Linked DNA regions of Homo sapiens: regions 2 and 3 are each linked to region 1. Evidence: promoter capture Hi-C in 16 types of primary human blood cells and fetal thymus (Javierre and others, 2016). All regions are on one chromosome and are shown on one strand. Each heading gives the region's core, a stretch centred on a gene start or on the middle of the fragment in contact. The rest is flanking DNA. Distances are from core to core; before and after follow the strand shown. Region 1 holds the start of ZNF503-AS2 (ZNF503 antisense RNA 2). Region 2 overlaps KCNMA1 (potassium calcium-activated channel subfamily M alpha 1). Region 3 overlaps KCNMA1 (potassium calcium-activated channel subfamily M alpha 1).

The links. Contacts are between HindIII fragments. The CHiCAGO score rates a contact against its expected background, and 5 or more counts as called.
Region 2: a contact is called between a fragment that was not itself captured here and the fragment with the promoter of ZNF503-AS2 in region 1, in 1 of 17 cell types (naive CD8 T cells). The highest score is 6.7, in naive CD8 T cells.
Region 3: a contact is called between a fragment that was not itself captured here and the fragment with the promoter of ZNF503-AS2 in region 1, in 1 of 17 cell types (naive B cells). The highest score is 5.4, in naive B cells.

What each region holds. Positions count from the first base shown.
Region 1 is chr10:75,399,853-75,403,125 of GRCh38, forward strand. ZNF503-AS2 (ZNF503 antisense RNA 2) reads left to right here and starts at 1,676. Exons shown (of 2, transcript NR_024421.1): 1 at 1,676-2,409. It overlaps ZNF503 (zinc finger protein 503), which reads right to left and starts at 1,912. Exons shown (of 2, transcript NM_032772.6): 1 at 1,253-1,912; 2 at 1-522. The coding sequence starts at 1,567. RefSeq lists an enhancer at 914-1,414. The HindIII fragment of the contact is 15,649 bases long and covers 1-3,273 here.
Region 2 is chr10:77,124,533-77,127,805 of GRCh38, forward strand. All of the region lies in intron 5 of KCNMA1 (potassium calcium-activated channel subfamily M alpha 1), which reads right to left. Among named protein-coding and RNA genes, the nearest start is that of KCNMA1-AS2, 15 kb to the right of the region's middle. The HindIII fragment of the contact is 191 bases long and covers 1,725-1,915 here.
Region 3 is chr10:76,968,023-76,971,295 of GRCh38, forward strand. KCNMA1 (potassium calcium-activated channel subfamily M alpha 1) reads right to left here. Exons shown (of 28, transcript NM_001161352.2): 20 at 1,952-2,045. The region is part of intron 2 of KCNMA1-AS1 (KCNMA1 antisense RNA 1); the gene reads left to right. Among named protein-coding and RNA genes, the nearest start is that of KCNMA1-AS1, 82 kb to the left of the region's middle. The HindIII fragment of the contact is 2,271 bases long and covers 623-2,893 here.

The sequences.
Region 1 (3,273 bases), core at 426-2,925:
CAGCCCCGTGGGTCCCCCTTCGGCCGAGGCGCCCCCGGTGCCCTTGCCACCGCCGCCCACGTCGGTGTCTTTCTTGTCGTCCTTGCCCTCCGGGGCACCCCCGGCCGAGGACAGCATACCTCCCGGCGAGCAGGCCGAGGCGCTGGAGCTCGGGCTGCCTGTCCTGGGCGTGAATGGCTGGCAGGTGGCGCTCGGTACCCGGAATCCCGACTTCTCCGACGAAACACCCCCGCCGCCGCCCCCGCCACCGCCACCGCCTCCACCGCCGCCTCCCGGCTCCTTCTTATCCGAGCCGGGTTTGGAGTACGGCTTGAAACTCGACTTGTCCTCCACGCCGATGTCGCTCAGCTTCAGGGGGCCCGATTTGGTGTCCTTGTCGCCCGCAGCACCGCCGCCGGCACCGCCCGCGCCGCCCCCGTTGGAGGCAACCGAGGAGAGTTTGGAGGAGGGCGAGGGGTCGGGCTTCCCGATCTGCGAACATGTTTGCGCCAACAGCGCCAGCGGGCTCTTCTTGGCATCGAGCTGCGGGGTCAGACGATGGGGGGGGAGCGTCACACAGAGAAAGAAGTGGAAACCCTTTAGAATCCTGGCTTCTGGGGTTCAAATGCCTCTCCGCAACAGCCCACGAAGATCCTCCCAGCCCCAAGGCGCAATTCTAGGCGGCACCCCCTCTTCAACACCCACTCACAAACATTCTCGCCGTTGGGAAAGGCAGCAGATTGCTCCCCCCGCCCAACCACCACCCCCAGCAGCATCTTTCCTGCCCTCTCTGAGCGCTAACTAGATTTTTAAAGAGCAAAATGTTTTGGTTTTCGGTTCCTAGACCCAGAACTGTACCCCCTCCCCACAAACACTCCTTAATTCTTCAGAGTAAGGGCTCGGGCGGCTGGCGCCTCAGAGGCTGTGTGCACACACTGGCTTCTGCGGATACGAAGGACGGCGACTTTGGAACCGTATTTCAGACCTCCGCCTGCCTTCGGTGCCGAGTGAAGGGGCCTGGGTCGGGGTAGGGGCTTTCATATCGAAAGGAGAAACAAGTATTGGCAGCCTTGCTCCCTAGCATGCACGCCCCATTCCACTTCCTCCCCCTTTTCCGCCCTAGTTTTGAGGTACGGAAGCAGTAGCCTCTTCCCCCATTCGGGAGCTGAATCACTCCGACCCCCCCACCTCCGCCCAGATCCCGAGAAAAAGAAAGCCCTAGGGTGGCAGCCAGGGTAGTGGTCCCAGTGCGATCCAGAGAGAGGGTCCTTACCTCGATGGGGCTGACCGGCGTGGAAGGCAGGGGCTGCAGGTACTCGGGGTGCAAAATGTGGCCAGTTCGTGCCGTCAGCATCTTCAGCACCTTGATTGGCAGGCGGTTGGCCTGGCGCAGGGGGTCAGAGGGGGGCACGGCGTGCACAAAAGGCTTGGTGCTGCCGGCCGGGGACGAGCCTGGGCCGGGGCCGGAGCTATTTCCAGAGAGCGCGCTGGTCCAGGCAGGGTCTGCACCGCCGCCTCCGCCTCCGCCGCCGCCGCCGCCGCTGTGCTTACTGCTTCTTAGGGCAGAAAGCGAGGGCGCTGTGCTCATGACCCACCCGCGCGCATGGGAGCAGCGGGGGGGAGGGCTCCGGGAGGCGCGGGGCGGGCTCGGGGCTGCGCGCTCGCCCCGGGAGCAGGAGCAGCGGGAGGAGGAGGAGCTGGCGCGGCGGCCACGGGCGCCCAGCGCGCCTTCTCGGCGCCTGGAGCCAGACGCGAGTAATCCTGGGTGGCCCGCAGCGGAGCCGTGGCCGGGCTAGAGGAGCCGGCTGGACTGCGGGAGTGCCGGGCGGCTCGCGGTGTCCGCCTCGGGCTGCTCCCCTGCGCTGCGTTCTCGCGGCCCCGCGCCGGCGCTGCGCTCTGCGATGCGAGCCGCTGCGTGTCCAGCCGGGGCTCTGGCGAGGAAACTCACTTCAAAAGCAGCTGCACCAAGGGGGAGATTAAAGCCTTTGCCGCCTTCCAATCAAATGGGAGCCCGAGGTGATTGGAGGGTCAAGGGGATGTGACGCGTCCCGCGCCGCCGCCGCCGCCGCTGCCAGGACTCTCAGTGCCGGTTTTAATGGGCAGCTCCCTCTTCGCCGCCCCCCTGTGTGTCCCCTCCCTCGATTTCGCTGGGAGGACGAGATGGACATTTATTCTACGTTTGCCATCCGCCGCCTCCCTCTTTTTTCCTCCTCGTCGTTCTTCCTTTCCCCAGCTCGAAAATAAACTGAAACCTTCTTTTGAAGGGGGGTGCGCGTGAGGAACAGACTGCGGGGGGTGTCCAGAAGGAGCACCGGTGGGAGTGTGGACACCGGCCGGACTGTCAACTCCAGGGGCGAAGGGAACCTGCACACCCAGTGTTTTTTCCTTCGCAGTAATCGAGATCCCGCGCGGCGCAGCGCAGCCACCAGGGTAAGAAGGCAAGGTGGGGAGCCGGAGCTGGAAGAAGCCCGCCCGCCCGCTCTAATTTCCTCAGATTCCGCGGCGGAGAAACCAGAAGCTAGATGGGCAGTCGCAGCGGCGGCGGCTCAACACCGCGAGGAGCGCTGGGCTCTCCGCCCTTCCCGGCCACGTGACGCCCGGGGACGCGTAGATTGGGGCAGCAGCGGGGGTCACATGTTTCCTCTGTTTCACCCTCAGTCTGTCCCCCAACCCCCCATTCTTACTCTCCCACCCTGTTTTCCTCCCTCCCCCCCTTCTTTGGGCATCTCCACCCCTCCATCAATTGTCAATGTTCCTCGACCGCAATCAATCAGTTATTTGTCAGCTCTTGTCAATCCTCCCGTGATTTATGTCAGCTTTTGTTGCTGATTACAAGGCGGGTGCGACTTGAAGGGAAAAAGAGAGAGGGAGAGAGAGACGGAGAGGAAGGAGGAGATTGAGAGGGAACTGGAGGAGGGGAAAAGAGGAGCGGCCTCCTGGGATGGGGGTGGGGTGGGGGCTCTAAGAAAAAGAATGAAAGAGGCGCACGGTGTCAGGAAAATGAATAGCGAGAGTAAAGTGCGCAGGTGCGCCCAGGGCGCCGAGAGGGGCGCGCAGGCCTGGAGTGTGCGCCTGCCCTCTCGGTGTCGGAGAGACGCCCTTCCACCTCTGGGAGCCTCGGTCTGTTGGGGTCGCGGAGTTCGGGCGCGGCTCCGGGTACCCGAGACCAGCGGCGGCAACTTCTAACACGGGAGATTTCCCGCCACCCCACCCCGCCGCCGCGAGTCCTCGCGGGGCGTGTTGCGTGCGGAGGTCAGGCTGCCACCCTCTGTAGTTCCCTAACCCCAAACTCGG
Region 2 (3,273 bases), core at 570-3,069, 1.7 Mb after region 1:
ATCATTTATTTTTCCCAACATGGAGACCAGAGGGAAATATCTCCTTGCAAAAGGGACCCAGGGTGATGCAGGAGCAAGACCCCTGTGGGCTGAACAAGGGTGGCCTTTGCTTATTTGACTGCCTCATACTGGGCATTTTTATGGCACTGAGTTTCACTAATGCAAATGAGCCAATGAAGTTCTCCATAGGTTAAAAAAGTCAGTCTACATTTCATCCTCAGATCAAGCCAGACTATCTGGAGAAATGGTTGGTCTTTCAGGAATCATTCACAATAGCTTCCGTATTAGTCCGTTCTCACTCTGCTAATAAAGACATACCCGAGACTGGGTAATTTATAAAGGAAAGAGGTTTAATTGACTCAATTCCACAGGGCTGGAGAAGCCTCAGGAAACTTACAGTCATGGCAGAAGGGGAAGCAAACACATCCTACTTCACATGGTGGCAGGAAGGAGAAGTGTTGAGCATAAGAGGGAAAAGCCCCTTATAAAACCATCAGATTTCGTGAGAACTCACTATCACGAGAACAGCAGCATGGGGGTAACTGCCCCCATGATTCAATTACCTTCCACAGGGCCCCTCCTACAACATAGGGGTATTATGGGAACTACAATTCAAGATGAGATTTGGGTAGGGACACAGCCAAACCATATCAGCTTCCTAACCGCTTTCTGCCCTGGACCCCTTGTGTTCTCTGCTCAGAAGCCTCCAATGCCACCCATTCCACACAGAGTAAAAGTCAAAGTCTTTCAAAGGCCTAAAGCAACACCATCCCACCACCAGCACTATCTCCTTTTGGATCTGATGGCTTCCTACTGTCACTCCTACTACTGTCCGCTGATCTGGCAGATGTCTTCAGTGACACTTGAACACACAGGTATGCTACTGCCCCAGGGCCTCTGCACATGCAGCCTCTCTGCCTGGAATGCTGTTTGCCAGATGCCCACATGGCATACTCCCTCACCTCCTTTGGGTTCTTACTCAATGTCCCTTGATCAGCGTGACTTTCCCTGGCTACCCGACCTAAACATGCAACTCCTCCCACACCACCCGTGCAACTCCCTATCCTCTTTCCTGCTTCACTTTTCTCCTCAGCATGAAGCACTAGCACCTCGGTTATGTGGTTACTTTCTGCCTTCCTCTCTTTAGCATCAGCTCTATGAGGGGAGGAGCTGATGTCTGTTTTGTTCAGGGCTATATTTCCAGCATTGAACATAGTGTCTGGCATAAGGTGAAGGCTCAATAAATCCTTGTTTGAACTGAATGAGTGAATCAAAGTTTTGAGAAATAATTAGACGGCGGAGTTAAAGGTTAGATAATCCACATTCAGAATTCTGAGACTATATGTTGCCTACTAAAGGGAAAAGCCAGAAGCCCTGCGGGGTCCCCTGAGAGAGGTCAGGGCTGCACTCTTGGGAAGTAGAAAGTAGCCTCATCAGGGAAAAGCCTTAACGAATGACCACTCTGGCTATACCCAGAAAGAGCCCAGAAGACTACAGACAGCGACTTCAGGCTAAGAGAGGAGACCAAGATAAGAGAGGTGAGAGGGGGAACTCTTTGGTGACAATTATTCATCTTCTCTATTTTATAATATCTTTTATTATTTTTATTCTATAAAATCTCTGAAATAAATGATTTTCTAAGGTAACACAAAATAGCTATAATAGAGTTGTGAAGAAGAAAATGTGTATATACCAAAAGCCAGGAATTACATGCCCTCCCCAAAAGCTTCCAGGTTCAGAGAGTTTTACAAGTGAGATTTTTACAGTTTCAAAAAATAGTAACTTCTCTATCTATTCTCTATTATATGATCAATTCTTAAAAATGGACTTATCTGTGTTTTTCCATGCTCTGTATTGGTTTAGAAAGTTGGCATTACCTGGACACAAGTTCCCTTGCATTTTTTCTTAAATGGCAAGCTTATCACACTAATGACTAACAACAATAATCCTAAATAAAATACTAGGGTATCATATCCAAGACTGCATTAAATGAATAAAAGACATGAGCTATAGCAGATGCTGTAGGGTACAGCCCAAATCCCCTCTTCAGGGACCTTATTTGTCCTGGGCTCTTGAAGAGTGACCTGCTAAAGGCTCAGAGCTAGTCCCTTCATGAGAACTGCCCTCTGCTACAAGGAGCTGCCTCACCTGGGGCTACATCCCCTGTCAGTGGTGGTGCCCCCCACCCCCCCACCCCCCCCCCACCACCACACACAAATGCTGGCTGATGTAGGGACAAAGGTCAGCTGCCTTGCCTCAATTTGGGATACTTTTTCCTGTGGGATGGGTTGAGGCTTCCCAGGCAGCTGCAGCCAGCCTGAGTTCTCCACCCTTATTCCCTCACAGGCATGGGCATTAAATCCTACCCTGGTGATCTGCATACCAGAAGACCGAGCATTCTAAGAGTCCATGTGGGCATACTGGAGGCACTCAGTAAATGGTAATTTCATCATATGAAGAATTACAATAGCGTAGGAGTGTACACACGCCACAGAAAAGTCATCAAACTGGACTAGAAAGCCCAGAAACACACACACAAACACACACACACACACACACACACACACACACACACACACACACACACAGAGTACATATAGTGTTACTATTATTTTAAATTACTGGTGAAATGATGATGTTGACAATGACATTAATCTATTATTATTGATGATATCTAGTATGTTTATTTACTTACACACACTAAAACTTCTAACTATATCTTTTTTAAAAAATACGTACACAGAAGAAAATAGCTAAGGAGACACAAATGAGACAGTGTATCCAGCATAGTTTGAAAGCAACAGAGCCAAGTTTCACCACAAATGTGACAAACTCCACAAAGCCCAAGCTTCTAGCCACTGCCCTGTACAGACTTCAGCCAGTCATTTCCAATTCAGACATTAGGACTCAAGCACACACTTTCAAGACTTGTGATACATCTTACCAACTTGTCCTCACAATTTGCATTCCCTTCAGTATGCAAATGCTCTTTTGCCTGTATTCCCACTGGATTGAGTACAGTGATAGAGAAAATAGGAAGGAAGGAAGGAAGGAAGGAAAGAAGGCATGAAGGCAAGAAGGGAGAGAAGGAGAGAAGGCAGGAAGGCAGGAAGGCAGGAGGGGAAAGGGAGAGAACGAGGGTAAGAATCCCAATTTGAGGTCGGGCATGGTGGCTCATGCCTGTTATCCCAGCACTTTGGGAGGCTGAGGTGGACTGATCACTTGAGGTCAGGAGTTCGAGACCAGCCTGGCCAACATGGTAAAACCCCGCCT
Region 3 (3,273 bases), core at 508-3,007, 1.6 Mb after region 1:
AAAGTCCTGTAAAAACCATACTTGATACGATATACACTAGCTTTTTCTGCTTGTGGAAAAAAAGTCCCCCCAAGGCTACCTCAAACCATCACTTTCTATTGCACATAAAATGTAGCGTGTAACACTAAAGTATTTAATATATATGGTATAATATATCTACAGGAAAGGCATTTGTGTAGAAGTATGTTACCCTGGATTTGGTAATTTGATGTTTTGCTGAAGGCTACGACTTAAAAAAGCCTCCACCTCATACAGAAGACCTGTCATCTTGGTACCCAAGAGCCAACAGAATAAAGAAGTACCCTTAAGCAGCAAAACTTTGACACAGCTTTGAAGCATATGAAAACAGTATAACTCCTCAGAATTATTATTACTCAAGATCAAAGAAATGAGCCATACTTTACATAGCAAACAGGGACAGGGAATTTGGCTCCAAAGGTTTCAGATTTTTCAGACTTCTCTTTATTTATTTATTTGCTTCTCTAAATTTAGGTGAAGGAAAGTGGCTGGGCTTTTCTCTACTTTAAATGGGAATAACTATTAGAATTAGATAAGGTGATTACCTAAAGGTGAGTAAATAGGAAATGAATGCTAGCATGACACTGGCATCATAAAAACGAAAAGCTTGGCAGTTGGCACATTTTATTCCTCCTCATAAACTGTAAACAAGCATGCAAATCAGCCAAACCCAAGGAAGGCTGGGTGAAGTGGAAGGCAGAGAACTTTTAAGGAAACATTTAACAGGAATAGATGGTGATATGGAAAAGGAGTTGGGCAGGGTGAGTCTTCCACGGAAAACCTGTGTCCTCAACCACATGAAGAAAGACTGCCCTTGCCTATTTTCCAGAAAGGTGGATGTGGAGGGCCAGGAACATGCAAATGTTATTGAATATGGGGAGTGGAAATCACCACTATTCTATTTCAAAAATCAAAGCCGGTGGCCATGAAAAGACAAAACTAATGTCAAGATGGCAGGCATTTCCAGAGCAGAAACCACATAGGGTGAGCAGTGCAAATCTGAAATCACTCCTGTTTCATTTGGGTGGTAGAGAGTCAGGATGTCGGAGGAAAAAAATGCTGGGATTGGCAGATGAATTGAAGACAAAAAGGGGAGATAAAAGACAGATAGGCCAAGAAGAAGAAACTGCAGAACGCTGTTGAAATTTGACTTCACTTGCTATTTACCAGAGGAAGCCATAGTCAAGAAAGAAGTGAGGGAGAAAGAGAGAGAAGGAGGAAGGGAGGGAGGGAGGGGGAAGAAGGGAAGGAAGGAAGGAGGGAAGGAAGGAAGGAAGGAAGGAAGGAAGGGAGGAAAGGAGGGAACATGTACATGCATGCTGTATTTCATAATTAATATTGCTTTTAGCCTGAGCAGAACTGGATTACTTTTGAACTTTGCTTTGGCAAGTCCACAGATTATTAGACTTTTTCTTATCAGTCAAAATCAATTAACAGAAATTTGATTTCAATCGACAGGATAAAAGGAAGGTAATCTTCAGGTTCATTTTTGATTGTGATGATACATCTCACATATGGCCTTAAGTACAGAAAACAGTCCTCGGAGGGACTCCAGCAGAAAGAGACTGCCGCAGGCAAACTAACCACACGAGTTTCTCTGATTGGTTACCGCCATCATTAGTGCCACTGCTGTTTAGGAACTACACACAGACAGGACATGGTGACAGCTAAGACTTTAAAGCCTATGTATTTTTCAAACAGCTTTTCAAACTGTTTTTCATGACAGAATTTTTTCAGCTCTATCATTAACTGCTGACAAGCTGACAGAATAAATACTCCAGCCTTTAAGAAGCCATCTAACGATCTCGCTCCCCTCCCCCACCCCGGGCTTGCTGGGGAGGGGAGACTCTGGGCCTGGCAGGGTGAGGAGAGGGCGAGGGGAGGAAGAGAAGGGCTAAGAGGGAAACCGTGGGCAACCAGCCCCTCTCCTTACCTCATCAGCTTAGGCGAGGTGTTGGGTGAGTTCCGCATGCCTCCATTCCGTTGCTTTTTTTTTGGTGATAGTGTTGACGGCTGCTCATCTTCAACTGGAAATACAGGCAGCTCATGAGATTATGAACAGTTTGAGGGCAGACTGTGCAATACAGGCAAAATATCAAAGGACACACACTCAAGGCTCAGTCACTCACTAGGAATTCATGGCTGTCTTTTAGGACCCAATGACAAAGACCAAATGTGTTAGTCAAAGAGGCCGGCTTAGAGAAGGTGAAGGCAACACCTCTTTACACTCCAGCCTTTGAACATACACTTTAAACAGACTAAAACAGTTTGTAAACACCCTGCCATAAGAAAAAAAAAAAAAAAAAAGAAATCATGATTTATCTGTATACCAAAAAAAATACTTATCATTATTCTTAGAGTTAATTTTGGTTACTTTGCTTTGCCCAGTAATAGACTGCGTTTTGTTGTAACCAAAATCAGAAATAAAGTTGTATTTGAAATGTCAGCATAACTGCCAGCCTGCTGCTTCTCCAGATGAACCAACTTAGCTGGTTCCTAACCCCTGCATACCAGAGAAAGAGCGTTGAAAAGAGGCAAGGATTCAAGGCCTTGACAGCCAATGTTTCAATCAGATCGGGGCACATTGGTGCATGCTGGCTCAATAATCCCCAGCCCAACTCAGCTCTTATCCCTCCAACTGCCAGGAGGGAGGGCTTGTGGGGCTGTGCCAACGGGGTCCTTTTTCAACCCATGAAGACAGGAGCACCGGGGCTGGTGAGGTTGGAGGAGAGCCCCGGAATGAAGGAGGAGGTTGCCATTGAATGAAATCTCTGATGATGCAGCAGCGGGGCAGGGATGGAGGGCAGCACAGGGGATTGGAAACCAAAAGCTGTTTTCCAAATGTCTAAACCACACAGATTGCTAAGCAATGTGAAGCTTCACTTAGAAACACCACAGCACACTCTACTGCTCTTGCCCAAAGACACCCACTAATAAGCTTTGCAGATGTATTAGCCTGCATCATGCTTCTTTTTAAGAGAACTGCTTGATAATTAGCAGATGCAAACCCAGCCTGTCACCCAGGGGCATCAGCGGCAAAATTCTAGTCCTCCTCTCCCCACCCCCACAATTCAGGCTAAAGCTGTAATATCAAGAAGGAAAAATAAGATCTTTGGATTCTTATAGTTGACTGCAACACAGACTAGGAGGAAAGCACCCTGAAACTCAGAATGCACAGCAGTTACCTTAAAGCTAAGAAGAGAAATATTAGCAGTGATGACATCAAAAGAGACTTGATATATGTTAATGGTGTAG